Linked DNA regions of Homo sapiens: all the other regions are linked to region 2. Evidence: promoter capture Hi-C in 16 types of primary human blood cells and fetal thymus (Javierre and others, 2016). All regions are on one chromosome and are shown on one strand. The core of a region is centred on a gene start or on the middle of the fragment in contact, and the rest is flanking DNA. Distances in the headings are between cores, read along the strand shown.

Region 1 (5,052 bases), core at 1-2,500, 3.2 Mb after region 2:
GGGCATTCACTACCTCGTGGCAAAGGGCACAGCTGATGACTACCTTTGGTATGGCTTGGTTGGGTGGCCTGGCAGTTGGAGTCGAGCAAGGGTGGAAACTGATGATATGTTTACTTTGCTCCCAAAGTGCTTCTGCTTTTGCTAAGTAAGGTCTTTAAGGATCTATAGAAAATTGACTAGTGATGCCCTCCTGCTTTCATCATGACCATATTTGGCCTCCCTCACTAGCGTTCACTGGTGGCTTGCAGGGTGCATGCTGAATCTTATAGCAATAAGGGGTTGTGGCTCCTTTTGCTGCTGGTCTGAGGCAGGGAGAAGTGCTGATTATGACAAAATATAGATGGAATTTAGTTTGTAAAACACCCTGTTCCCAGCTGTGAAGGCATTTGTTAGGACAGGGTGACAGTCTTTTACCTTTTATGATGTGCATTTATCTGGTGGGCACATCTTACATTGCTGCTGCTGGACCACAGGGAGAAAGTGGCTTACCCTGGACTGTGTAGTGTACTTCGTTAGCAGAGCTGGAGTAAGATTTTCAACCCTAGGGTTTTCTGTCTGTTACCTAAGTGAAAAATCTCAAAAAGCTTCTTCCCCTTATCTCCCCCTTCCTGATACAAAATTTCTTGATTATCTCATTTGTTTCCACTGCTTGTCTCTGTTTCCAGCCTTATGACTAAGGAGTCTTCCCTTTGCAATGTGTGTGGGTCACTCCTACTTCCCCCTTTTTAGTGGATTTGTTAATTGGGCAGCTCATAATACCACCAGATTCAAAATTGTGTTGAAATGAGGCAGCATTTATTTCCTACACATCTTCCATTAGAAAGAATATTGAACCTGATGATATTCTTAGCCCTAAATTGGAGTTTTTACAAATGAGAGGGGGCAAATTTTTCAAGATGGGTGTTTGCACCTTGAGAGATGCAGAGATGTGAAACCGTAAACAAGCCGTTGTCCCATAAGAACAAGGAGGGTGGCCTCATTTTCATTAGTCTGGTGGTTCTGTGCAGGTTGTATTCACTGCAGCTCATTTCTCCCCAACAGGCCCCTGATTCAAGAGAAGATTAAAGTTCTGGCAGAAGCCGGGCTTTCTGAGACCAATTTTTCAGAAATGACAGAATCCACTGATTACCTCTACAAGGTAATGCCAGCACATGGCTCTTCACCCCTGGAGCAGAGGGAGGCATTAAGCTGTCTGCCAAGTCTTTGGGTCCTGAGTAGGAGGATGTGAATCACTCCTAGGGACCTCCCCCAGCCTAGAGCTGAAAACAATGGCCTGCAGTCATTCTCAGTTGAACCATGCATGCATCGCTTTATGGGGAAATGATGGCATTAGCTCCTACAGCTGCTGACATTCCCGCACAGGCTCTGAATGCTGCCTCTTCCAGCAGGCCATTAGAAACTGACAAAACTCCCCATGGCAAATGTTGAATTGTTTCAAAAAGTACACAGCAACACCACACATAGGGCTGCCACAGGAATGCATCCCCAGCACAGAATGGGGAGTGTTTAAAATAGGGTACTGGCTTCATAGAATATATTTTCCCTTCTGTCATTTTATTTATTCTCAGTGTCTCCCCACTTGATAGAGGGGTAAACTGAGACATGGCAGTATAGTAGGTTTGCACAAAGTCACAGGGCATGTGAAGCCAGCCCAAGGAAGAAGGCTTCCTGACTTGGCCCAGCATTCCTCCTTTGAGCTCAGCCCTTGTTGTAAAGGAGTATAAGAGGCATCCCTCCATGACCAGGCAGGCCTTGTCAAAGGTGCTGAGGGGGAAGGCTGTTGCCTCTGAACAGGACAGCCCTGGGCCCATCATGCCTGCCTGGTTTCAGTGCTGCAGCCCAGTGGCTGCCACAGACTCTTCCTCCCCCATTTCAGTGAAACACAGTGGAGTGAGCAAGAGACCCAGAGCCTTCCAAAAGCTTGTTTTCCTTCCCCAGCTTGGATTGTTGGCCAGAAGGTGAAAACCAGGAGTATGCCCTCCTCGAGCACAGCTCATGGTTGAATTGTTTCTGCCAGGAGAGTTTGAACCAGGTCTGAGCCTCATGCAGAAAGGGGCCTTACGGTAGCTTATCAGGAAAGTGAAGCACCTCCTCCTTCCTGTGAAATCACCATCAGAATATTGAGTTAGGCCACACATGGTGGTGCACACCTGTAGTCCCAGCTACTCCAGAGGAAAAGGTGAGGATCACTTGAGCCTAGGAGGTCAAGGCTGTAGTTAGCCATGATGGTCACTGTACTCTAAACTGGGCAACAGAGCAAGAGCCTGCCTCAAAAAAAAAAAAAGAGAAAGAAAAAAGTTTAAATAAATAAGAAGTTGAGTTAAATCTTATCGTTGACACCAAGACTTAAGACTCTGTGGATCTGCTCATTCACTTACATTTATTTAGCAAATAAATTCTTTCTTTGCAAGGATTTATTTGCTAAATATTGGGATAAATAAGACTCAGATCATATTTTTAAATGCAGACTGCAAATTATCCTTTCAGACATATATAGTTAATAAGCCAATTTTAAAACAACCTTATTTTTAAGCTTTTTAAAGAACTCTCCAGTTCAGCTGAATGGTAAATGGTAACAGAGCCTAGGTTATTACAAGCCTTTTGAAAAGAAATAGTCTGAGCAGGCATAGTGGCTCAAGCCTCTAATCCCACACTGAGGCGGACAGATGACTTGAGCCCAGGAGTTTGAGACCAGCCTGGGCAACATGGTGAAACCCCCATCTCTACAAAAAATACAAAAATTAGCCAGGCATGATGGCACATGCCTGTATTCCCAGCTACTCAGGAGACTGAGGCAGGAGGATTCCCTGAACCTGGGAGGCAGAGGTTGCAGTGGGCCAAGATCACACCACTGCATTTCAGCCTAGGCAACAGAGACAGACCTTGTCTCAAAAAAGAAAAAAAAGAAAGCCTATTTTTAAAGGATTCTCACTTGAACTCATTTATTCCTCCTTGCCTTTCTCTTACTCTAAATTGGTTAAGCATTTCTACCTAAAATATAAGTACAAGGTAATATAAATGAGTTTTATCAATATTTTGATCAATAACTATATCAATTTATTTTTTAATTAAGATGGGGCTGAAAATTTTATCAACTACTAGAAAAAGAAAATGTTGCTTCCAATATAGGAGACAAAAGCAGAAGAGGTTATATCTCACTGAGATAGCCTTCCTTCTGAGAGGGGAAATGAAATATTAATCTGATCTTGGAACTCGCTTCCAATTAATTATGCATGCCCCGAGTCAGCATACAGTGTTGCCATCATCATAATCAAATGCACATTAGCAGCTTTTTCTACTTGGAATAGGCTGCCTTGCAGGGTGGCGTTTCCTTGACATTGCAGTCATTCAGAAAGAGGCTGATGAGGGCATCCTGGAGGAGGACATGTGGGTTATTTGGGGGTCAGCCTTGATGATCTTTCATATCATTTCCCTCTCTGCAAGGCTGGGATCCTGAAAGGCTAGGAGATTTCGGGTGCAGGTTAATTGAATAATCTGGAGTTCTTACATGACAGGCTGTCATGATCAATTTTCAAGGAACTCTACTTCACCAATGTGGAGGGATTTGGTTAAGGAATAGTGAGGAACAGTGGCCAGGTACGTTGAGACCTAATTCTATAAAGGCCTGAAAAGCCAGGGGAGCAACTGTAGACTTGATGAGGTAGGGACAGCGGAGCCCAAAGACATGACCAAAAAAATCTTTAAAGGAGAGCCTGGGGGTAAAAATCAGCTGGCAAAGATCTGTAGGCTGTTTGAAATGGGAAGAAGCCTGAGGCAGGAAGCGCAGTTGAGCTGTTGCAAATCCATGCAGTACCAAGTGATGTGGCCCAAGTAAAGATGGTGCCTGAAGGAGAGAGGAGGGAACTAATGGGGGGAACAAACTTGCATAAGCCGAGGACTCTGTTTGCCTGGATGATTTCCACCTGGGAGACTACGAGAATGCAGGTAGACTATAAAAACTAGACTTATGGGAAGAGAAGCTGCTTTGAGAATATAGGAGATGAGAGATCATTTGATTTTTTATATTTATTTATTTATTTATTTATTTAGAGACAGGGTCTCACTCTGTCACCCAGGCTGGAGTACAGTGGCACTATGCTGGCTCACTGCAACCTCCGCCTCCCAGGCTCAAGTGATTCCCCCCATCTCAGCCTCCCGAGTAGCTGGAACTACAGGCGCATGCTGCCAACACCCGGCCAATTTTCTGTATTTTTGATAGAGATGGGGTTTTGCCATGTTGCCCAGGCTGGTCTCTAATTCCTGAGCTTAGATGATCCCCCCGCCTCGGCCTCCCAAAGTGCTGGGATTACAGGCGTGAGCCCTTGCAGCAGCCTTATTTTTATGTATTTATTTTTTTTTTGAGACAGAGTCTCACTCTGTCACCCAGGCTGGAGTGCAGTGGCGTGATGATGGCTCACTGCAACCTCTGCCTTGTGGGTTCAAGCGATTCTTGTGCCTCAGCCTCCCAAATAGCTGGGACTACAGGCACGCACCACCATGTCTGGCTAATTTTTTGTATTTTTAGTAGAGATGGGGTTTCACCACGTTGGCCAGGCTGGTCTCGAACTCCTGACCTCAGGCGATCCATCCGCCTCGGCCTCCTAAAGTGCTGGGATTACAGGTGAGAGCCACTGAGCCCAGCCAAAAGATCATTTGATTTTAAACCAGTTTAGTTTTATGAAACTGTGGGATGTCAGTGGAGATATGGAAAATATACCTCTAAATTGAAAAATGGTCAAAGTTGGAAATTTAGATGTAGGAAAAATCGGCAGAGGGGTGATAGTGATCGTGTGTTGTGGTTGTATCCACTGGGCATGGTTTTAACACTACACCATTGTCATCAATGTATAGATGCAGTTGGTGGGTATTTTGATTATTTGTAATTTAAGGTAATCAGAATAGGTACACATATCTACTTATGAATATGTTAAATGTGTGTATGTTTTTTCAACTACTTTGAAAATTAGGTATAAGCCATGGCTGAACACAGAGATTTGGAAGTTGGGGGGCTGGGCACATGGTGGCTCACACCTGTAATCCCAACATTTTGGG
Region 2 (5,166 bases), core at 148-2,647:
TTTTCACCAAGAAATGTAGAATGAAAAATAATACCATTTGCCCTAGCAATCCCATTACTGGGTATATACCCAAAGAAACAGAAATTGTTCTACCATAAAAACACATGTACATGCGTGTTCATTGATATTCATGATAAAGACATGGATTCAACCTAAATGCCCATCAACGGACTGGATAAAGAAAATGTGGTACACATATACCATGGAATACTATGCAGCCACAGAAGAATGAGATCATGTCCTCTCAGGGACATGAATGCAGCTGGAGGCCATTATCCTTAGCAAACTAATGCAGGAACAGAAAACCAAATACTGCATGTTCTTAGTTGTAAGTGGGAGCTAAATAATGAGAACAAATGGACACAAAGAAGGAACAACAGACACTGGGGCCTACTTGAGGAGGAGAGTGGGAGGAGGGAGAAGATCAGAAAAAATAACTATTGGGTACTACACTTAGTACCTGGGTGACGAAATAAGTTATATACCAAACCCCTGCGACATGAGCTTACCTGCACTTGTACCCCTGAACCTAAAATAAAAGTTAAGGGAAAAAAAAATATTTGCAAAGAAAAGGGCCTTGAATTTGCTTCTGATACATACGCGATATAACCTGAGGAAGATCCTCTCAGCAATAAGACTATACATGATGGGGCAAGTGTCAACTGCATACATTTGTCAGGACCAAATTTGTAGCTCATAATTTTTATGCAACTGTTTTTACCTTGGCGAGAATCAATGCTACAAATACTATTCCAAGTCTTAGTATATGGAACCAAACTCAAAACAGATGTCCAGCTAAATGCATTAAAGATCACAAGAAAGGAATTGACAAAGCTGAACACCATAGTTCTTCATTGCTAAGCATCTGAGGAGCGTCTGGTAGCTCCCCTGGGTCAGTCTTTCTATTATGATTTCTAGAACTTTATTTTTTCATTTTTTAAAAAATTCCAGGTGTTGAGAACTCACCTTTTCTAGTAGTTTTCCCTGGGAACACTTGGGGATCTACAAACATCTGAAATTGGAGGATGCTAATGGGCAAGAATCAAGAGAAAGGTAATTCAGAGACGACAACGAAGTGGGAAAGAAATTACAGGGTCAAAGCGAAAGAAAACCAAGCTGCTTGGGTAGGAAGGTGCAATGCAAGCCAATTGTTTACTGTATCTTGTCCGCTCCCAGAGCTGCGCCCGAGCTCTCGCGTTAACTAGGCAACATCGTTGCCACGGTAACTGGGAGGCGCGGGAGGGCGACAGCTCCCTGGACTCCCGGTAACCCTTACGTGCCCGGGGCTGGTCCGTGGGGCGGGGTGAGAGATGCCGGAATCTCGCGAGAGCTCCCGGGGGCCGTTGGGTAGCGTCTTCGCTGTTGCCCTTAGGGACGGCTGTGGGCCTGCTGGGGGTGGGGGCCCGAAGCGCCAGAGATGGCTGCTCAGCGAGGGATGCCCAGCTCCGCCGTGAGGGTCCTGGAAGAGGCGTTGGGCATGGGTTTGACGGCAGCCGGGGACGCGAGGGACACGGCGGACGCGGTGGCGGCTGAGGGCGCCTACTACCTGGAACGTATCCTTCCCGTGGAGGCGCGGCCCGCTGCGCTGGCGGGTAATGGGTGTTGGGACGAAGGCGAGGGCCTCCCACTGGCGGCGCCTTTTGAGCCTTGGGGCCACTCCGGAGGAGCCTCTGTTGGACTTCAAGGTGCTGTTTTTGCCACCACAGTCTTCCTGAGAGCCACTCACTGAATTTCTCGCCCTTAGTAGCCCAGGGTGTCCTGTACCTGTTAGAAGAGTTGGGAGACCTTCCAAGGCCTCATACTTAGTAACCACTCAGTACATTTTGGATGGAGGGTTGCTTTTTATGTTAAGACAGCACAACAAATTGCTTCAACCCTCCTTTCAAATAATGGGTTTCCTAAATAAGCCCTCAATCTTTCAGAAAGCCGTCCCAATAAATTCAACGGAGGAACGTTAGGAGACTAGGGAAAGACCTCTGCCATTGGACTTTAAGGAGCTGAAGCTCAGAATACCCAACCCACGATCCTGTTCGATGGTCCAGTTAATGCTTAAATGCTTAGTTTTGATAGCATTATCTTCCTGAGTAGTTCCAAGTTTGACTACTTAATAATAAATACTAATAGTATAGTTGCTTTTTTTTCTTGAGCAAATAAATAATGATCTGGTGAGCTACACAGCTCAGAGATATTAGGAATAAAGCAGATGGTGATTAGCGATTTTTATCGGAAGTACCAGAAAAATTGAATAACAATGTGTGGATAATTAGGTCCACTATTTCTTGTGTAAGGCTTTAGAACTTCTTTCCTCTAGTTATATAGATTAATTCCTACTAGGGAGACGGGGAGGGTTCATGAGAAAAAGACATGTAACTCCTTTATTCAGGGAGGTAAGAAAGAGATGATTATCTGTTCAGTTCTTAAAGATACCAAGGAAACTCCAAAATCTGCCAAATCTTATTTGTTTGTCCAACTGTAATCCTCTCCAGGTTTAATTCAAGATTTCAGAAATCCAGCAATGATTCATTTCGTGAGCTTTGACAAGCCGATTAACCTGTCCTGACTCAGGCTCAGTACACATCCACACTACAGAGAGCTTTGAAGAATTTAGCTGAAAGATTAAAGAAAATATGTAGTATTTTATTGGGTGCAAAAACGACTTTTACAGGAATAGAAATTTGAATCGCTTGAAATGAATTTGAAAGAAATATATGGGTGCTTTAGTGTCATAAATGAGGTTTTATACTGTTTTCGTAGATGTAACAGGCAGTCTTTTCCAGTGATATTCCTCTTTAACAACGATTTTCATAATTCTTCCTAAGCTTATCTATATCCAGTGCCCTTGCTACTGAATGGTAACCAGGCATCTTGTAATTTTGTTTGCATTAAAATTATTTCCGTGAACACATAGTTTAATTGTTAACATGAGATTGACACAATGAGGTAACTTTTTGCAAACATCTTTGTGAAATAAATGGTAGGAGTCTAACATAACACAACTTTCAGCAATGAAAATCAGGTTTACTTAATGTGCAGGGAGATCACTGAGTCACACCTGCCAAGATGTAGCAGTTTGCAAACCTGTCTTACAAAGACTTTTTCAAATAATCACACTTATTTGAACTTTAACACATATAAGCAACTGTAACTTTTTAGGATTTTACTAACCGTTGTGTGAATTATCCAACCCATTTGCTTTTCTTCTTTCTTTGGTTGACTGACTGCTATTTTGTATTTTAACCAAATGGTAGTCAGGGGATACACAGTTAAACATTTAACCAGTTTATTTTGCTATATTCCATGCTGAGGGAAGAGGTTTAGTCATTTCAACTCTCAGTTGAAATGAAGTTTGAGGATTACTTGTGAATACCAATTATTCCTGTATCCCTGGGCACTCTTCACATGGTTAATTAAGAGTTGCCTGTGTAATGTTGTTTGACATTGTTTCTTAAGGCAATTATGATAGTTGCCAAAGTGAGACTTCCTTTGGTTTAAAGTCTTTGCTTTCAGGTAATTTAATTGAGCTATCATGGTGGGTAAATAAAAGTTATAATATGCACAGATGAATCAGAAATCTGATGTCCTCTGCTTCGCACATATACTCAATCACTTCTAATCTACTGCATTTGGCCTGGATTTCCCTTATTTATCACTCAACAGATGCTCCTAGTACATTAGACAATGAGCTATCAATATCGAGCAAGACTTTGAAAGAAGTTGACTTGAATTCTTTAGGAAATCTCCCACTTTTCTGCTTTTAAATACTCAATTATGAAGAGTATGAATAGACTAATGTCCAAACCAGAAACAGCCAGGATCCATCTTGTGGGGGACATTAATGAAGGTCCCATGTCCTTTATAATGGTTTACACACTGGGTTCAGGAAAAAGAGTTCTTACCCTGCAACACCCTTTCCCTGTAATCTCCTAGCTGTAACAGTGCCACCTATTTCTCTTCTAAGGAACCCAGAATATCATTGCTTTTATGTTTTAGACTTCAACAAGGTGAGATACAAATATACATTGTTCTTAGCTATTGTCAGAACACTAAGAAATTGAGTTATGGAGTATATGAATCCTCTCTAGAACCCATCATTAGAAAAATACTTGCAGCATTATAAACTATAAGGTGAGATTTTAGCTATGTGATAGATATGTAAAGGGTCAAGTAGGTATCTCCAGAACCTAGAAAGAAGGTTGATTGTCTTTTGTGAATGAATGAATCCCTTATTAGAAATCAACACAACTTGGGTGAGGTTTTCAACTGTAGTAGTGAGGAAGGGCTGCCTATTAATGTATGGCTGCAGACATTTGGGACTGCCTAGTTCCAATTGGAAGGCCAGCATGAATTTGTACTAAGAAAGCTAAGGGTTAATTGACTTTGTTGTTCCTTGTCTAAAGAGACTTTGTTCAAGGAATAGTAAATGAATACATGGACCCTAGGAAAGTGGAGCTTCAAGGTATTGTTTTTGTTACATACCTCCCTCAATATGGACATCTGGCTCCTCTAGCTTTTGATTATTTCCTCTCTCTGGGCATTCTAATACTAAGGATTTGGCTTTTTAGATGGTAGGTGTAAGTTTACTGGCCAATGAAAAAGGCTCCCCAACCCCCAGCAGCAATTTCTGAGAGTTCAGTAAGTTTAAGCCAGTTCTGTGAAGCTAATCAGCTCTGAATGGAGTCCCAAAGTCAACTCTTTCTGAAACTCCAAAATTAAGGACTCTAGACCCTGAAATATGAGGATCACACTAGACTGATGCCCTTATCTGAGATACTGAGGACTGTAATTGAAGTAGCAAGCCTGTAGATAAATATCTTAACTTCTACCATGCTACCTTTAAAAAAAATTATTATTTTTTTAGAGATGAGGTATTGCTCTGCTACCCAGGCTTGAGTACAGTGGCATGATCATAGCTCACTGCAACTTCAAATTCCTGGGCTCGAGCAATCTTCCCACCTCAGCTTCCTGAGTAGCGGGGACTGCAGATGTGCGGCACCATACCCAGCTAATTTTGTTTGTTTGTTTTTGTTTTTGGTAGAGACGGGGGTCTCACTCTGCTATTCAGATTGGTCTCGAACTCCTGTGCTCAAGGCATCCTACTGCCTTGGCCTCCCAAAGTGCTGGGATTACAGACATGAGCCACTGTACCAGGCTGCTGTCTTCTTAAGT
Region 3 (5,131 bases), core at 2,627-5,126, 3.1 Mb after region 2:
TGTTTCCCAGGCTAGAGCACAGTGTCTATTCACAGGCATAATCATAGCCCACTAAGGCCTTGAATTCCTGGGCTCAAGCAACCCTCTTGACTCAGCCTCCTAAGCAGCTGGGACTACAGGCACACACCACTGCACTGATCTTATCCACAATTCTTTTTTTATTATATTTTCCACACAGGTATTCTCTCTTCTCCTAGTCTTTAAGTTCCTTGAGACAAACTTTCTTTTTAGTGTTTGTATTTCATCTGTTGGCAACAGTATCTTGCACACAAATCATAAAGACCAAGTTGAAGAGGCTTCTTACTTTGTTTCATCAGTCTGCTAATATGTTATCAATATCACACTAGTTTTATTATTGTAGCTTTGTAGTATATTTTAAACATTAATAGAATAATAACTTACATTTATTGATTACTTAATGTATTCCAGGCAATGAGCTAAGTGCTTTACATGATCTCAGGTAATCCTAACAGGAAGTCTATGGGATAGGTACAATTATTTCCATATTACAGATGGAAAAAACAAAATTTAAAGAGATGAATTTACTCCAAGACAAATGCAAAAAGTGCAGAACAGTGTATATAGCACACTGCCATCTGTATGAAAGGGAAGATAAATAAATGTTTTTACTTAAATGTGCATAGAATATATCCAGAAAAATATGCAAGAAATTGATTATGTAATTGAAATATAATAATTATATCCATGATTATTATAAGTCAATTAAAAATAAACAATTTTTTAAAAAAAGAAATGGATGACATTGGCTGCCTGCTGGGAAGGGAATGGGATGCGGGAGTTAAGAATGGAAGAAGAGCAGAATCAAGTTTTGGGTGTGCTGAAGCTCATACAATTTGGGGGGAGCACTTTTACCAAAAAAATACAAAATTAGATACAGAGCCTTAGAAGGGATATATGCCAATGAGGATCTCTGATGCCATAGGTTACTTTTTAAATCTGCCCTCAGCAGAAAGGAGACATTCCACTATATATACTTTTGTATATATTAAATATATGGAGCTTTAATCATGTAAATGCATTGTCTATTCAAAAAGATACAGTTTTTAAAAAATTTATATTTTTTGTTTTGCCAGGCACAGTGGCTCATGCCTATAATCCCAGCACTTTAGGAGGCTGAGGCCGGCAGATAACTTGAAGTCAGCAGTTCAAGACCAGCTTGGCCAACATGGTGAAAGCTTGTCTCTACTAAAAACACAAAAAATAGCTGGGCATGGTGGCACATGCCTTAAGCCCAGCTACTCAGGAAGCTGAGGCAGGAGAATCGCTTGAACCCGGGGGGCAGAGGTTGCAGTGAGCCAAGATCATGCCATTGCACTCCAGCCTGGGTGACACAGTAAGACTCTGTCTCAAAAATAATAATAATAATATTTTTAAAAGCCAGTTCTCCAACTGACTGCATAAAGCAGGACTTTTACATTTTTCAAAAAGTAAATAACTAAGTTTTCATTTTTTCCAGAAGCAGAGGTGTCTGTGCCTATAGCAAGCTGGAGGGGGTGCGGAGGAGGAATTCCAGAGTTGCCTGTTTTACGGAGGCAGGGTAGAGGGACGTGGGGATTTACCTTCGTAATTCAGAGTAGAGATTTGTGTCAAATGTAAAAGGCATATACTGTCGTAACATGGAAAAATGAAAAAAATTAAAAATAAAAGGCATATACTGCACATGTATACATGTAGGGATAAGAAAAAGAGACCCTGCTTTTTCAGAAACGTACAAGAGAAAATTAAGGTAAAAACTCAAATAATATTGCACTGATTGTTAAAAGGGAGCTAATTTCCTGGAAACCAGTGCTGAGGACCAAGGATGTGAGCAGACGGGATGCTAATGCTCTTTCCCAAATGGCTCTGATGGCCCGTGGTTTTCTATTATTGCATCTAGGAGTAGCAGGTCCCTTACTGTAAAGTATCTAGAAATCAGTCAGGCTCTTAACCACTCAATTAGGGTAATTTATCCTTGCGATGAATGGGACCGTTCCTTCTCCCTGATTTAGTCTGGGCTGTGCCTCCATCGAATGCAGATATAAATAGGTCTGTTTGGGGCAGAAAGCCAGCCTTGTATCCTCCCCACCCTGAGGTCTGAACCCGCAGCTTGTAGCCTGGCTCTGTGCAAGGGGCTGATTGTAAGTCCTCCAAGTCAACAGGAACACAAAATAGCTAGCAGCCCCTCCATTTATCTTTCCCCCATGGACAGAACAAATTTGCAGAGAATTTGGACAGAATTTGCAGATAATTTGGAGCAAACATTAAAAAGAATAATCTGACAATAAGAAATGTGAAATGCTGGAGAAAGGGAAGGAAGGAATTGCCTTTTGCCCAGATCCACAGGAATCCCACACTTTGGATGGTTATTTTGGTGCCATCTTAGTTACAGTAGAGACAGGATGCAGGCCTCAAAGCCTTCCTTTCCCCTACTCAGGAAATTCCTTAAGAACTGATTGGCCTTTTGTTTGTGTGTGTGCTATTTTATTTCAGTCAGGGGTAGACCCCTCTTTCTTTTTCTATTGAAGACCACTCAGCTAGAAAAGAGGAAGGCAATTGGTGGCCATATAAGAAAACATCAAATCAGCGTGAGGAAAGGCTAGAGGAGGGAAATATGAAATGTTTCACTTGTACCCTTTGAGAACTGAAAACCAGGAGCAATTTAACACATACGGCAAACTGGGCGAAATAAGCTTTAGCTCCATGCTATGGGCAGCTGGATGTGGGGTTAGAGGAGCACAGAAAAAAAAAAAAAGAGAGAGAGAGAGAGAAAGAGAAAGATAAAAAGTAAATAGATATAATTTACTATAATAAAATGAAAAAGAATGACACAAAGAGACAAAGCATACACATGTAGAATTAAGGAGTAGGCCAGGTGCGGTGGCTCATGCCTATAATCCTAGCACTTTCAGCGGCCGAGGCGGGTGGATCACCTGAGGTCAGGAGTTTGAGACCAGCCTGGCCAACATGGTGGAACCCTGTCTCTACTAAAAATACAAAAATTAGCCGGGCGTGGTGGCGAGTGCCTGTAATCCCAGCTACTTGGGAGGCTGAGGCAGGAGAATCGTTTGAACCCAGGAGGCAGAGGTTGCAGTGAGCCGAGATTGTACCACTGGACTCCAGCCTGGGCGACAGAGAGAGACTCCCTCTCAAAAAAATAAATAAATAAAAAAAATTAAGGAGTACAGAGGGGCAGGTGAGACAGAGGGACAGAGGGACACAGGCAGCCTATCTATTCGCCCCCTTGTGGTCCTCAGGGACATTGCAGACAGCCAATTCTAATCCAACCTTAACATTTAACATCTGTAGACAAAAATGCACTTTGAACACTTAGGCAATTTCCAGTGTGGTGGATACAATTATATATATTAAGAGTAGACTACTGATCAAAGGCTTATGGTGCTCCACTTGCTGGAGCTACAGAGTGGCCTGCTGGATGAGTAGAAGAAACTAGGATGCCTGAGATCAAGTTTGGGCTCCAGCGTTCTCTATATCCTTGCACAAGCTACTTGGCTTCCCTTTGCCTTCATTCTCCCTTAATAATCATGAAAGAACATAATTTTTCCAATCTATGTCTCTGTAAAGAAGCTACCTCATATGCAGGAAGAAATGGTCCATAAGAAAGCTCAGCCCAATGTGATGGCTCACACCTGAAATCTCAGCAATTTGAGAGGCCAAGGCAGGAGGATCACTTGAGCTCAGGAGTTCAAGACCAGCCTGGGCAACATAGTGAGACCCCATCTCTACAAAAAATAATTTTAAAAGTTAGTCGGGCTTGGTGGCGTGTGCCTGTAATTTCAGATACTCAACAGGCTGACGTGAGAGGATCCCTTGAGCTGAGAAGTTCAAGGTTGCAGTGAGCTACGATCATGTCACTGCATTCCAGCCTGGGGTGATAGAGCAAGACCGTGTCTCAAAAAAATAAAAAAGAAAAAGAAAGTTTAGTGTATGACCTTGAATTTCTTTTTCTTTTCTTTTCTTTCTTTTTTTTGGGGGGGTTGGGGGGAATCTCACTCTGTCACCCAGGCTGGAGTGCAGTGGCACGATCTCGGCTCACTGCAACCTCTACTTCCCAAGTTCAAGCGATCTTCCTGCCTCCGCCTCCTGAGTAGCTGGGATTACAGGCATGCGCCACCACACCCAGTTAATTTTATTTGTATTTTTAGTAGAGATAGGGTTTCACCATGTTGGCCAGGCTGGTCTCAAACTCCTGACCTCAAGTGATCTGCCCGCCTCACCTCCTAAAGTGCTGGGATTACAGGCGTGAGCCACCACGTCTAGCCGAACTTGAATTTCTAAGCCAACTTCATGTCTATTGTGGCCAACAGGGGGTGAGCAGTAGAGCCCTGCACGTGCATGTGCATCACTTTATGTGCCACATCACTTTATGTGCATGTGCTAGACTCAGACATTCAGGCTTTGTGAGATAGAGAGATGGTGCTGGAGCTACCTCCAAATAGCTTTCTGACCTGTCCATCCAGTTCCATCACCATCATCTCTTCCCTAGACTCCTGCAACGGCTTCCTAAGAGGTCCTCCTATCCCCACTCTGCCCTTCTGTGGGGCTTTCTGCACACAACAGCAAGTAGCTTCCTGAGACACACAAGTTACTCCACTCTGGTTTGCATCTCATTAGGGGCCTCCTGCTGCTCTCAGAACAAATTCCCAATGTCTTTGCGTGGTACTGAAGAACCTGGACGTTATCTGTCCTATTTCTCTCCCCAGCCCCATCTTGTGTCCTTTTCATCCTCTCGCACCTCCTCCAGCCAAGCCGGCCTCACTTCCACTTCTCAAACATGCCCAGCTCAGCTCTTCCTTGCCTGGGCTCGATGTTGCTTGCCCCTACAGCTCATTCAGAACCCGCTTCCCTCTGAGCTCCGCATGGCTGCCTCCTCTCCTCCTTCAGGTCTCCCCTGGGGACACCTTTCCTGACCACTCTGAAATAGTTCCCTCTTAAGTGTCCTCTTGGGCTCTCTGTTTAGGTCCCTCACAGCACTTATCATTTAGCTGATTTGTTTCTTTTTGTTTCTTTTGTGTGGGGGGGATCTGCCTCCCTAACTAAACTGTAAGCTTTATTTAAAAAGGGTGACATCAGTAATGCAGCCCTGGTGCTTCTGCACACCGTGCAGCCCATA
Region 4 (5,065 bases), core at 145-2,644, 3.1 Mb before region 2:
GGTGACTAACCCAAAGAAATGGCTAGTTATTAAGAACGGGAAAGGCAGAGACCACTCACTGTTAAGCCTCTTTCTCAATACTGAATTATTTTTAGAGTCATTTTTTCCTAGTCAGAAATTGCCAGTTTTGTCTGCAGTGCTCACTTCACTTAGGTTTTGTGGCTAACAAACCTGCCCCATCCAGCAATATTTAAAATTATTACTGACCCAAACTCAGATGAAGTTAAGCAAACTGGCTAAAGACGAAGGAAGTTTGTCTCCTAAACCTCGCCAGAACATGAATGTCCTGAAGTTTGGGGAATCAAAAACGGAATGTGCTTACCACAGTTCAAACAAAAAAACAAACAAAAACGGACTCTCCCAGAGTAAGAAAACATTACAAGAACGTCCATCCAGTGCCTGCCCTCCCGACTGCAAAGCCAGCCTCTTTCCTTTCCTGTGGTTTCTGAAACGGCCAGGATACCGCCTGGTATTTCTTGCTACCAAACACCACGCAATCTGACTTTTTCCAGCAAGACCGGTCCCTTCCTCAGCACACCGGTGACACAAACTTGGAAGCACCGTCCCTCAAAAATCCCCTAGATTCTGCTCTATCCCATCTAACTCTAAAGCCCAAATCTACGTTTTCCTGAAAGAAAGTGTGAAATAAATAAAATAGGGGTCTCATCAAATCCAGTGGGCTCCGCCTCAGAGCCGCCTCAAAAGAGCCGTCACCACACCCCCAATGGGTGAGGCTCAGCCGATGAGGCAAGAGGCGGGTCCAGGAAACCACGTGTTCTGCCTTCTGCGCACGCGCCAGCCAAAACAAAAGGGAGGTCTGCCAAGCCCCACCCCCCACGTGACCGGCGTCCAGGTCCGCCCCCACCCCTCCCTAGACCCCTTCCCTCCCCAGCTGCCAAGGCTGTTAGGTTTAGCCGTTTAAATTTGGCTGCGGTCAGACCCCCGCCCTAGAGCGCGATCCCGTGCCGAGACCAGAGTCCAGCAGCCCAGAGGATTCGGGGGGCGAAGGGGCTGCCGGTCGGTCGCCTGACCCGCAAGTCCACCCGGCAGTCTTCTCCCCTCCCCGCGCTGCCGCCGTCCCCAAGAGGGAAGACCCACCCCCGTCATCCCGCCGCTGAGACGCCGGCCACTCGCCTGCTGGGGCGCCCTGGCTCCCCTCCGCCGCCGCACCTTCGGTCCGGCCGTGGTGGGGGCTGCTGAGGTGATCTCTAGCTGCCCGCCCGCCTCCCCCACCCGGGGCGCCGCTGACTCGTCTCCAGAGCGCGCCCCGCTCCCGCCCCGGCCGCCGCCGCCGCCGCCGCCGCCGCCGCCGCCGCCGCCGCCGCCGCGGTTTAACAGTCCGCCCGCTGCCCGCAGCTCCGTGCGGCTCGGGGGGACGGAACCCTGCCGCGGTCTGGGAGCAGTGGGCGGGGCCCGGCGCTAGCCAATGGCAACGGGGGAGGGGCAGCGCCATGCAAATGAAGCGGGTGGCGGGGAAACCCCGGCAGGGGGCGGGGCCTGCAGAAGCGGCTCGGAGTGTTCTGGAAGTGGCAGGAGCACGACTCCCTTAACTCTGGTGCAGGGTTTACCTCGGCTCCCTCGGGACGGGTTCCGTGCAGCTCCTGCTTCCTCCCTTCTCTTTCCCAGTGCCATCCCTGGCGAGGGGGAAAAAAAAAAACACGGCCAGGAGACTTCCCACCCCTGCTTTGCTATTTTTGTACCTCCGTGACAGAAAAACAAAACCCTGAGGAAAAGTCAGGCGACTTCATTCCCTGCCGTCCGCGCCGGGGCCTCGACTACTGCTGGCGTCCGCGGCTTTCGCCCGCCGCTCCACAGGCGAGTTTTAAGAGATTTCTCACAATTGTCAAGTCCGCAAGTCTCCGTGCGTTTGCTTTTATTTGGGCCGTGCGTTCAAATGCGCTCATAATTCTTTCTGACCCTCAGAGGGGCCCTGAAGTAGGTGACAAATTTGCCTTGGATCCAACTGGGTGGTTTTATGATTAAAAAAAAAAAAACAGACAAAGCAGTTTTAAGTCTCTACAAATCTGGTTTGAGTGGCGCTGGACCTAACTCCCCTCTGCAGTAACGCTGTCAAATAAACAAACGGAGTTTATGTGGAGATAGTTGGCCAGCGACACCCAAAAACACTTCTGAGCGTCTTGCACCTGGCCCCGCGAACCGCTCACCACAAAACAAACCTGCACCTGGGCACTTCCCCAGCCAAGAACTCGATTTTTTTAAAACTGAACTCTAAATGTAGCTTCTTAGATGTTGTATCACAGTCTTTCCTAAGCACCGAATTTACACATGAAATGATTTAAGGAACGAAGAGCACTAGGCTTTTTAAGCCAGAAGGATAATAGCCATTATTTTAACCTTATCAATTGGATAAGATCCCGGGGGCGGAAGAGGGGAGAAATCCAAGGAATTGCAGTCATAACAAAGCGTAATCCGTAACATAGATAACTGGAATTGGAAAATTAGCTACTCGTTCCTGGTTCTTCTAGTAGATTGTGATATTACTGAAATAATTTTTATGACCAGCTGCATTTATTGGAGCTATATTTTTTTAATTACTGAATAATTGCACCTCGATATGGGGCAAGGGAAGAATTTTAGGAAATTGATTTACTTTCATTGTAATAAAAATTGTAAGCTAATGATGTGTTGTGAAAAATAATTAAATCAGTAAGTATTTATTGGATATTTACCATATTCAAAGGACTGTCCTAGTCCCTGGGGACAGAAATGCAAAAATGAATAAAGTATTTTTTAAAGTTTTGTTTTTTTAATTAGCAGTTTGAGACATCTAATAAGCATGTGTTAAGATAGATCAAAGGAAGATTCTGGATTTGAGTTGGACGTTTAAAAGACTTAAGAGAGAGGAGGAAGGCATCAATAGTTCAGGAGATAGTGTCCTTGGGTGGTTTGAGGAGATGTTGTGTGAATATTTGGGGGGCAGAAAAGTACATTGTCAACTAGATTGAGTAAATCTTGAATGACAGGAATTCAGATTTTAACCTGAAGGAACTGTAGAGACATCAAATCATTTAATGGTAGTTTTCTCCTGTGAAATAATTTTTTGCTACCAAACAAAATATTTATATATTTGCCAAATGTTTATTGAACACATGTTTTGTGATGGCTAATGAAGATATATTAGTAAACAAATTCCCTGTCCTCATGGAGTTTATAGAGGATGACAAAGGGATTAAGCTTTGTAACTACACAAATAGTGATTCATACAGCATTTCTACATATATTATGTAATTTGTTCATCACATAGCCGTGGGAGGTAGGCTGTTTCCAATACTCTAGATTAATTTTTTTTTTTTTTTTGAGACGGAGTCTCACACTGTCTCCCAGGCTGGAGTGCAGTGGTGCGATCTCGCCTCACTGCAAGCTCCGCCTCCCGGGTTCATGCCATTCTCCTGCCTCAGCCTCCCGAGTAGCTGGGACTACAGGCGCCCGCCACCAAGACCGGCTAATTTTTTTTTTTTTTTTTTGTATTTTTAGTAGAGACGGAGTTTCACTATGTTAGCCAGGATGGTCTAGATCTCCTGACCTGGTGATCTGCCCGCCTCGGCCTCCCAAAATGCTGGGATTACAGGCGTGAGCCACAACACCCGGCCGCTCCAGATTAATTCTTTTATCTTCTAGTCAGCCCTGCCGCCTGCTAAATGTTACAGACCTTAAATAAATATTTCAATCTATCAAGCTATCATACATGTACATTTTCCCTATTTTATATTCGGTTTAATAGGAATGTGGGGAGATGATTAACAAAATAATACAGGTTTGATATAAAATATATAGGAAAGCACAAAGAAGAAAACCACAATCATATGCAAAGTCTGTTGTATTTTATATGTATGACACTGTGCATACTGGTTTTTTATCCCATTTAGCTACATGTTAAGCACACTATCCCTTGACACTGAATATTGTTCTAAAGCATGATTTTATTATTTGTAGCATATACATGCGAGTTTTCCAGACACTATAGAATATCAGTTCTCCTTATTACAAAAATTGATATACTGAATCATTTGTCAAATTATTTTCTATATTACTCAGCAACAGCCTGAAAAGTGCATGTAGTTAATGTTTTTTTAAAATCAAGGACATATCATTTAGAAGGTACATTAAAAGCATTCTGATTTCCAAGAAAAAATATAACAGTGGTAAGAATAGAACACTTTAAAATCCAGCAAGAACAAGGAGAAGTAAAGGGCACCATTCTTGCTGACATAATAATTACCTATCTGGAAGCTTTAAAAAATGTCCAGGTAAGCAGTATTACAATGATTTCATGAGATAAACTTCTCTCTTCAACACTGGTTTTTATTCAGTCATTCCTTTCACTCAAGAAACATTCATGCAACACTTAGTATAGCTGACACTGTGATAAATGCTAGAGATAAAGGAGAAAGATCAATCTTTAATTTCAAGCAACTCACAGCCAAGAAGGGGCTTTTCTATCCCCCTTTGTTACTTTGTTTTTCTCCATTGCACTTATCAGCATGTAATGTAACATAGATTTTGATTTTTTTACTTTTGTAGTCTATCGCCCTAAATTAGACCATAAGCTCCATGAAGTCAGGCACTTTTGCTGGTTCGCTCATTGCTGTATCCCTAGAGCCTAGGACAGGGCCTGACACATGTGGATTCTCAATGCATATTTAATGTCTGGATAAATTAATTTTCACATCCCAGAAAGTGAATGTTATATTCATTTTCCAGGTGAAAAAAATATGAAGCTCAGTGAGATTAATGTACCTAGATTCTTATGCTAATAAATGGCCCATTTCGAAGACAGACCTGACTGGGTCCAAAGCCAGAGTTCTTTCCTCACTACCTCTCACAGAATAGAAAGCCTATTCTATTCTATTCTATTCTATCCTATTCTATTCTATTCTATCCTATCCTATTCTATTCTATTCTATTCTATTCTATTCTATTCTATTCTATTCTATTCTATTCCATTCCATTCCACGCCATGCCACGCCACGCCATGCCACGCCACCCCACCCCACCCCACCCCACCCTACCCTACCCTACCCTACCCTACTCTATTCGAGGTTGT
Region 5 (4,953 bases), core at 69-2,568, 3.1 Mb after region 2:
GCTACTAAGATTGCAGCCCACATTTCCTCCAGGGCCATGTGTAGACAATTGCTGGACAGCTCTCTCCCTGAACAGAAATTAAAACACAGAAATTTTAGCGTGTCTCTCTCTCTTTCTCTCTCCCCCTCCCTCCTCCTCCTCCTTCTCTCTCTATCCCTCTCTTTCTCCCTCCCCTTCACTGCTGTTGCCTCTCTATCTCTCTCTTCCTTTTCTAGAGTTTCCCTTATCTCCCCTCCTTTGTCTCCTTCATAGAAATGCTGTGAAAAAAAAAATGAGAAGAAACTGGGAAACTGTGTTCTCCACATCTAATGCAGTACTCACATTGCTGTTATTACTACTATAACACAATCCCATTAAAGCCTCTTGGCTCCTGCACAGATAAGGTAAACCCCCAAAACAAAATAATCATATGCAGGAAGTGCTTAATTTGATCCAGTCTTAATGCAGACAGGGCCCCCTAATCCTCCCACATAATAGAGCCCATTCCTTTACTGGTGTTAGCTTTTTTATTCAATGCTTTATTTATGACACCCCATCAAAATAATGAACAAGAAAGGAAAGCTTCTAACCTCTGACCAGATCTTGTATCACATGAGGGTATTTCACAATATTGCCAATGATTTTTTTCTTTTTCTTTTTTCAATAAAATACAGCTTTCTGTTATCAAAATACATGCTCATTATATATAAATTCCTTCCAAGATATTTTTACACTTCTTTTCTCCTGGATTCTCCCAACACACCTCTGAGGAAAGGAGGGGGGGGCATGAAAAGGTGTCTCCAAATCACGTAAGTTGGAAAAGCAGCCCAGAGGCATGAAGCTATTTGAAAAAGTTCACACAGTGGGGGAAATATTATCCCAGGGCACCTCCAAGTCCTGCTGTTTTCTAGAGACAAGAATGCTCTTGCCAGAAGCCACACTCTCAGAAGCCCCTGTGACATGCAGACCTGAGCCCATATGGGAGAAAAAAGAAATGCCTTAGGAATTTAGGAAGCCAAATAATTCTTTCTTTTGGAGAGTATGAAGTACTTGATGGTGGCAAGATCCTGATATCAAAGTGAGGCACCCTCTTGTTGTCAGCCGAGCCACTCTACCCCATAGCTCTGCCAGAGCCTGGTGCTGGAAGTAGAGAGAAAGAATGAAGGGAAGGCACTCTGGAGGATTTTTCCTAACAGGAGTTTTCAACTCTGGACAACACTTTATTGGATACTTAGGTAATCTTAAGATGGAAGAACCCAGCCCCCAGCCTCTCAGAGACATTTATTCACACTAAGATCTATATCACTTCCCCTCATAATTCCAAGCTGTAGCTCCAGGGATCACTGGTCCCCAGAGTTCTTTGTCCATTGAGAGCAAAGCAAGAAAATGAATGAAAATGCCAGCTAAGCCTGCATCTTACAGAGCACACCCTCAGCAAGAACCAGAGCCAGTCAAAGCCTGGCATGGCATCCTACTGCACTGCCACTTCCTCAAGGAGTATCCAGAAATCCTCCCTGCACTTCAGGAAACTATTGAAGAAGTGGCTGATAGGAACACATAACCTTGCCCACCTTGCAATTGAATACTCCTTCTCCAGCATCACTAACTGCGTGAGCCTTTCTATCTGTGATTCTTTGGAGAGTGTTGCCACATTCTATAGTTCCTGAAGAATGTACACATGCTATCCAGCATTGCTGATACTAGATTGTAGGTGAACTTGGGAGGGGTGTCTGTGAAAATCTGAATGAATAGGGTAGGGAAAACCTGCCAGACTTGGAAAAGCCCTGGTGCATATGAGAGTTGGCATCCCTATCCTGGATGGGGAGCATTTAAGGGATTTTCTAAGTCAACACACTTTTTAGGTCTGAAAAGGGAAATAGCAAGATACCTTATTGCCTACGTCAGTCTCTTAAACTCATTCTCATTCCCATTTACCTGCCTGTTTTCAACATAGAAAAATTTGAGTCTGCCAAGAAGTGTCTCAGCAAATCATATAGTCTTGGACCTAGAATCCCTCTCCATTTCCTCCTCAGTTGCTAGAACATAATGCTGAGGATGTCAACGTGATATGAAAGGAAGTTGTCCAAAGTAAAAGAACAAGCTTACTGGATTTCAACCTATGAGAAAAGGAAAAGAGAACAAGATCTCGGCATACTCTCAGAGCAGGAAGAAGTTGGGATATGGGACTGAAGATGGGCTAGACGAAATGTTACTAACAACAAGTTAGATAAAAGGATATCTTGGCAACCAGTGTGAATGTACCACCAAGTTTCTTCACTCCGTTGTTTCTAGATCTTCTATTCTGAGGATGTTTGTAAAATTTGGAGTTGGAATTGGAGACACTAGCATTGGAAGGAAAATGCAAAACCTAGAACACAAACGAACCACCAAACAGGCTCCACCAGGAACCAGACACTCATTGGGCAAACTTAACCACAAGAAACATCAATGAGGGCTCTTAAACATAGAGTCCTCATACTAAAGACAATATAACCGTTCCCCAGGGCAAGCAGGCGAGTAGCAATCTGCAAGACCTGAAAATACCACAGGAAGCAGGAGAAGAGAAAAGGGGACTCACCTGTTCTGGCCCCTGGAAGCAGATGCGGCAGAGTGGGGTCCTCATACCACTGTCCAAGCTGCTGCCCAGTGAGTAGCGATCCTCGGTCTTCTCCTTACAGAAGTCATCTGAGGAGGCACTGCTGAGCAGCGAGGCAGGTGGCTCTGTGGCTGGGCCACCCCAGTCATCTTCCACAGAAGAAGGTGGCAAGGGGGGTGGAGGTGGCACAGGAGGGGGCTCCCTGCCCACCACTTCTCGGGGGCCCCTCCAGCCTGCCCACCCCCCGGCGCCCAGAGCCGGAAGGGTGTTGTTGGCCGCCAAACCGGGGGGCTGGGGGTCGCCGTGCATGGGCAGGGGCGCTTGAGGAGGGCGCCGCAGTAAGAAAACCTTCAGGTCATTGAAGAGCATGCGGCAGCGGCACTTGAGGAGACCCTGGTGGCGCAACATCTGGGGGGCTGGGGCACACAATCCATAGCAGTACCAGCCGGAGCAGCAGCACCACCACCACCAGAGCAGCCCACACAGGGGCATCAGCATGTGCCCCGTGGAAGTAGAGAGCCCAAGAGGGGTGGCTGGAGTCTTAAAAGAGGGGGACAGGACAGGTTTTGGGGGTCCACAGTGGATCTGTGTTGTGGGGGGAGTCTGCTTTCTCACTGGCTTTTCTTACAACCCCTCCAAGTAGCAAATAAATTGCTCCCAGGACTGAGAAGTGTGAGTCACTGGTTCTGAACTCCACCTGGAAAGCCCAATAACAAAAAAGTTTTTCTTGCCCTCACACACCCACCCCAACCTCCAACTTTGTTCAGTGTGTCTCCTTTCTGCTTTTGACCTGAGGACACTGGTAGGAGCAGAGGGATTGAAGAAGCGTGGTGGAGGGGCCACTAGAGCCTCTGTCGAATTGTTTAAATCAATGTCGAATTGTTTAAAAGTTCCCCAGGAAAGGATTATTGGGTTCTTCTCAAATTCCTACGCAGTGAGAAATCTTTCTTTTATATAAAAGGGTGGGGACAATTGTAAATCAAATCTGGAGTGGATTGAGCTGGGCTTAGAGAAAACTAGCTCAATGAAGAATTGAGGACTGCATGTGTGAGAGAGAAAAGATCGTTTTTCTCAGGTGGTAGGGGTTGGGGGAGTCAAGGTAGGGGAGGAGAGAAGATTGGGAGAAGTTTTAATTCTCCTGGGCAGAAAACTGGGGCAATTAACCCCCAGAAGCACCAGAGTTGCTTTTAAGAGAGCAGTTGGGTGGGGGAGGGGTGTTGCAGGTGAAACTGGGCTAGGGGCTTGTGCTTTGCCTCCGCAGCCAAAGGGTTACACCGAAGAGGGGAAAGCCAATTAGGAGAAGGGAGGTAAAATAGAGGTTTGGGAAGGAAAAAGGATGGGAGAAAAAGAAAAGATCGTTTAACCCTTGCAGAGGCGCCTCCTTCCTGAGCATGAAGATCCTGGCTAGAGGAAGGGTGTGTGTACCGGGGTGAGAGGGCAGTGGAGCAGAGAATAGGGGTAGAGGAGAGGGGCGTGTGGGAGAGAACAGGAGAAAGGAGTGGTTACATTATCTCAGCCCCCAGCCCACCCCTGCTGCAGTCGGCAAATCCGTGGCGCCCTCCCCTCGGTTCCATCAAAGGTCCCTTCGGTCGAGGGGCAAGAGCCGAGAGAAGGGCAGGTCCGGGCGGGCGAGTGGCCTCGCCTTCTCCTCCTCTTCCTCCTCTGGGTCGCGGTCGCCCTCCTCCTCCGGCTCCGGGTCGGCCCGCGCCCGCAGCTGCTGCTGCGGCGGCGGAGGCGACTGCTGCTCGGCGTCCGGGTGTCTCCGGGGCGGGGGCTGCTCCGGCTCGTCCTCTGGCTGCTGCCCGCCGTCCGGCGCGGTCGCGACTCCGGCCTTCATGATCCTCCTCCTCCTCCCCCTTCCCTGGGGGCCAGCCCTGAGCCCCCGCGCCCGGGCAGCGCTGCCATGCAACCAGAGGCGAGGCCGGCGTGGGGGTGGGGGCGGCTGGGGAGTGAGGAGGGGGAGTAATAAAAAATGAAATAATACTAGTGGAATAATTCGGTTCTCAGGCAAGAGTGCTTCTGGAGGGTGGGGGCGGAGGAGGGCGGCTGCCGGGTCTGCTCGGCAGCTCTGCCCCCGCTACCCCCACCAAGGGCGGCCTCGGCCCGCTCTCTGCCCCCCCACCCCGCCCCTTCCTCCTCTCCACCGCCTCTGGCTGGCTAGGCTCGCTGTTGCTACCTCTCCTCGCAGATGCAACGAGGTAAGGCTTGTTTGCGGTGCCAGCTGAAGGTGGGGAGGGGGGAGCGAAGCAGTGTGGCCGAGGTGGGAGGCAGCCGGCACTTGGCTCCAGCTTGGTCCTCGCGACTCCCCAAAACCGTATATAAATATATCTCTTATAAAAGCCGAGAGGAAGCAAATCAGATTCCAGGCTGCTGCCAGG

Evidence for each region. Contacts are between HindIII fragments. The CHiCAGO score rates a contact against its expected background, and 5 or more counts as called.
Region 1: a fragment that was not itself captured here is called in contact with the fragment with the promoter of SPAG16 in region 2 in 2 of 17 cell types (naive CD8 T cells and naive CD4 T cells); the score reaches 7.2 in naive CD8 T cells.
Region 3: a fragment that was not itself captured here is called in contact with the fragment with the promoter of SPAG16 in region 2 in 6 of 17 cell types (non-activated CD4 T cells, naive CD8 T cells, total CD4 T cells and 3 more); the score reaches 17.2 in non-activated CD4 T cells.
Region 4: a contact is called between the fragment with the promoter of KANSL1L here and the fragment with the promoter of SPAG16 in region 2, in 4 of 17 cell types (fetal thymus, total CD4 T cells, activated CD4 T cells and 1 more). The highest score is 9.4, in fetal thymus.
Region 5: a contact is called between a fragment that was not itself captured here and the fragment with the promoter of SPAG16 in region 2, in 1 of 17 cell types (non-activated CD4 T cells). The highest score is 5.1, in non-activated CD4 T cells.

Annotation. Positions count from the first base shown.
Region 1 is chr2:216,477,162-216,482,213 of GRCh38, forward strand. It overlaps SMARCAL1 (SNF2 related chromatin remodeling annealing helicase 1), which reads left to right. Exons shown (of 18, transcript NM_014140.4): 16 at 1-48; 17 at 1,042-1,138. Among named protein-coding and RNA genes, the nearest start is that of RPL37A-DT, 19 kb to the right of the region's middle. The HindIII fragment of the contact is 1,336 bases long and covers 583-1,918 here.
Region 2 is chr2:213,283,067-213,288,232 of GRCh38, forward strand. It overlaps SPAG16 (sperm associated antigen 16), which reads left to right and starts at 1,398. Exons shown (of 16, transcript NM_024532.5): 1 at 1,398-1,553. The coding sequence starts at 1,418. It overlaps SPAG16-DT (SPAG16 divergent transcript), which reads right to left and starts at 1,143. Exons shown (of 3, transcript NR_161186.1): 1 at 967-1,143. RefSeq lists enhancers at 1,431-1,560, 1,601-1,650, 1,721-1,800. The HindIII fragment of the contact is 3,357 bases long and covers 1-2,817 here.
Region 3 is chr2:216,400,952-216,406,082 of GRCh38, forward strand. All of the region lies in intron 1 of SMARCAL1-AS1 (SMARCAL1 antisense RNA 1), which reads right to left. Among named protein-coding and RNA genes, the nearest start is that of SMARCAL1, 9.0 kb to the right of the region's middle. The HindIII fragment of the contact is 2,376 bases long and covers 2,689-5,064 here.
Region 4 is chr2:210,170,015-210,175,079 of GRCh38, forward strand. KANSL1L (KAT8 regulatory NSL complex subunit 1 like) reads right to left here and starts at 1,395. Exons shown (of 15, transcript NM_152519.4): 1 at 1,135-1,395. RefSeq lists enhancers at 420-1,054, 482-661, 1,055-1,690, 1,691-2,324 and silencers at 852-1,161, 1,282-1,611. The HindIII fragment of the contact is 7,802 bases long and covers 1-3,193 here.
Region 5 is chr2:216,367,188-216,372,140 of GRCh38, forward strand. It overlaps MARCHF4 (membrane associated ring-CH-type finger 4), which reads right to left. Exons shown (of 4, transcript NM_020814.3): 1 at 2,558-4,953. The coding sequence starts at 3,073. Among named protein-coding and RNA genes, the nearest start is that of MARCHF4, 2.8 kb to the right of the region's middle. The HindIII fragment of the contact is 1,519 bases long and covers 560-2,078 here.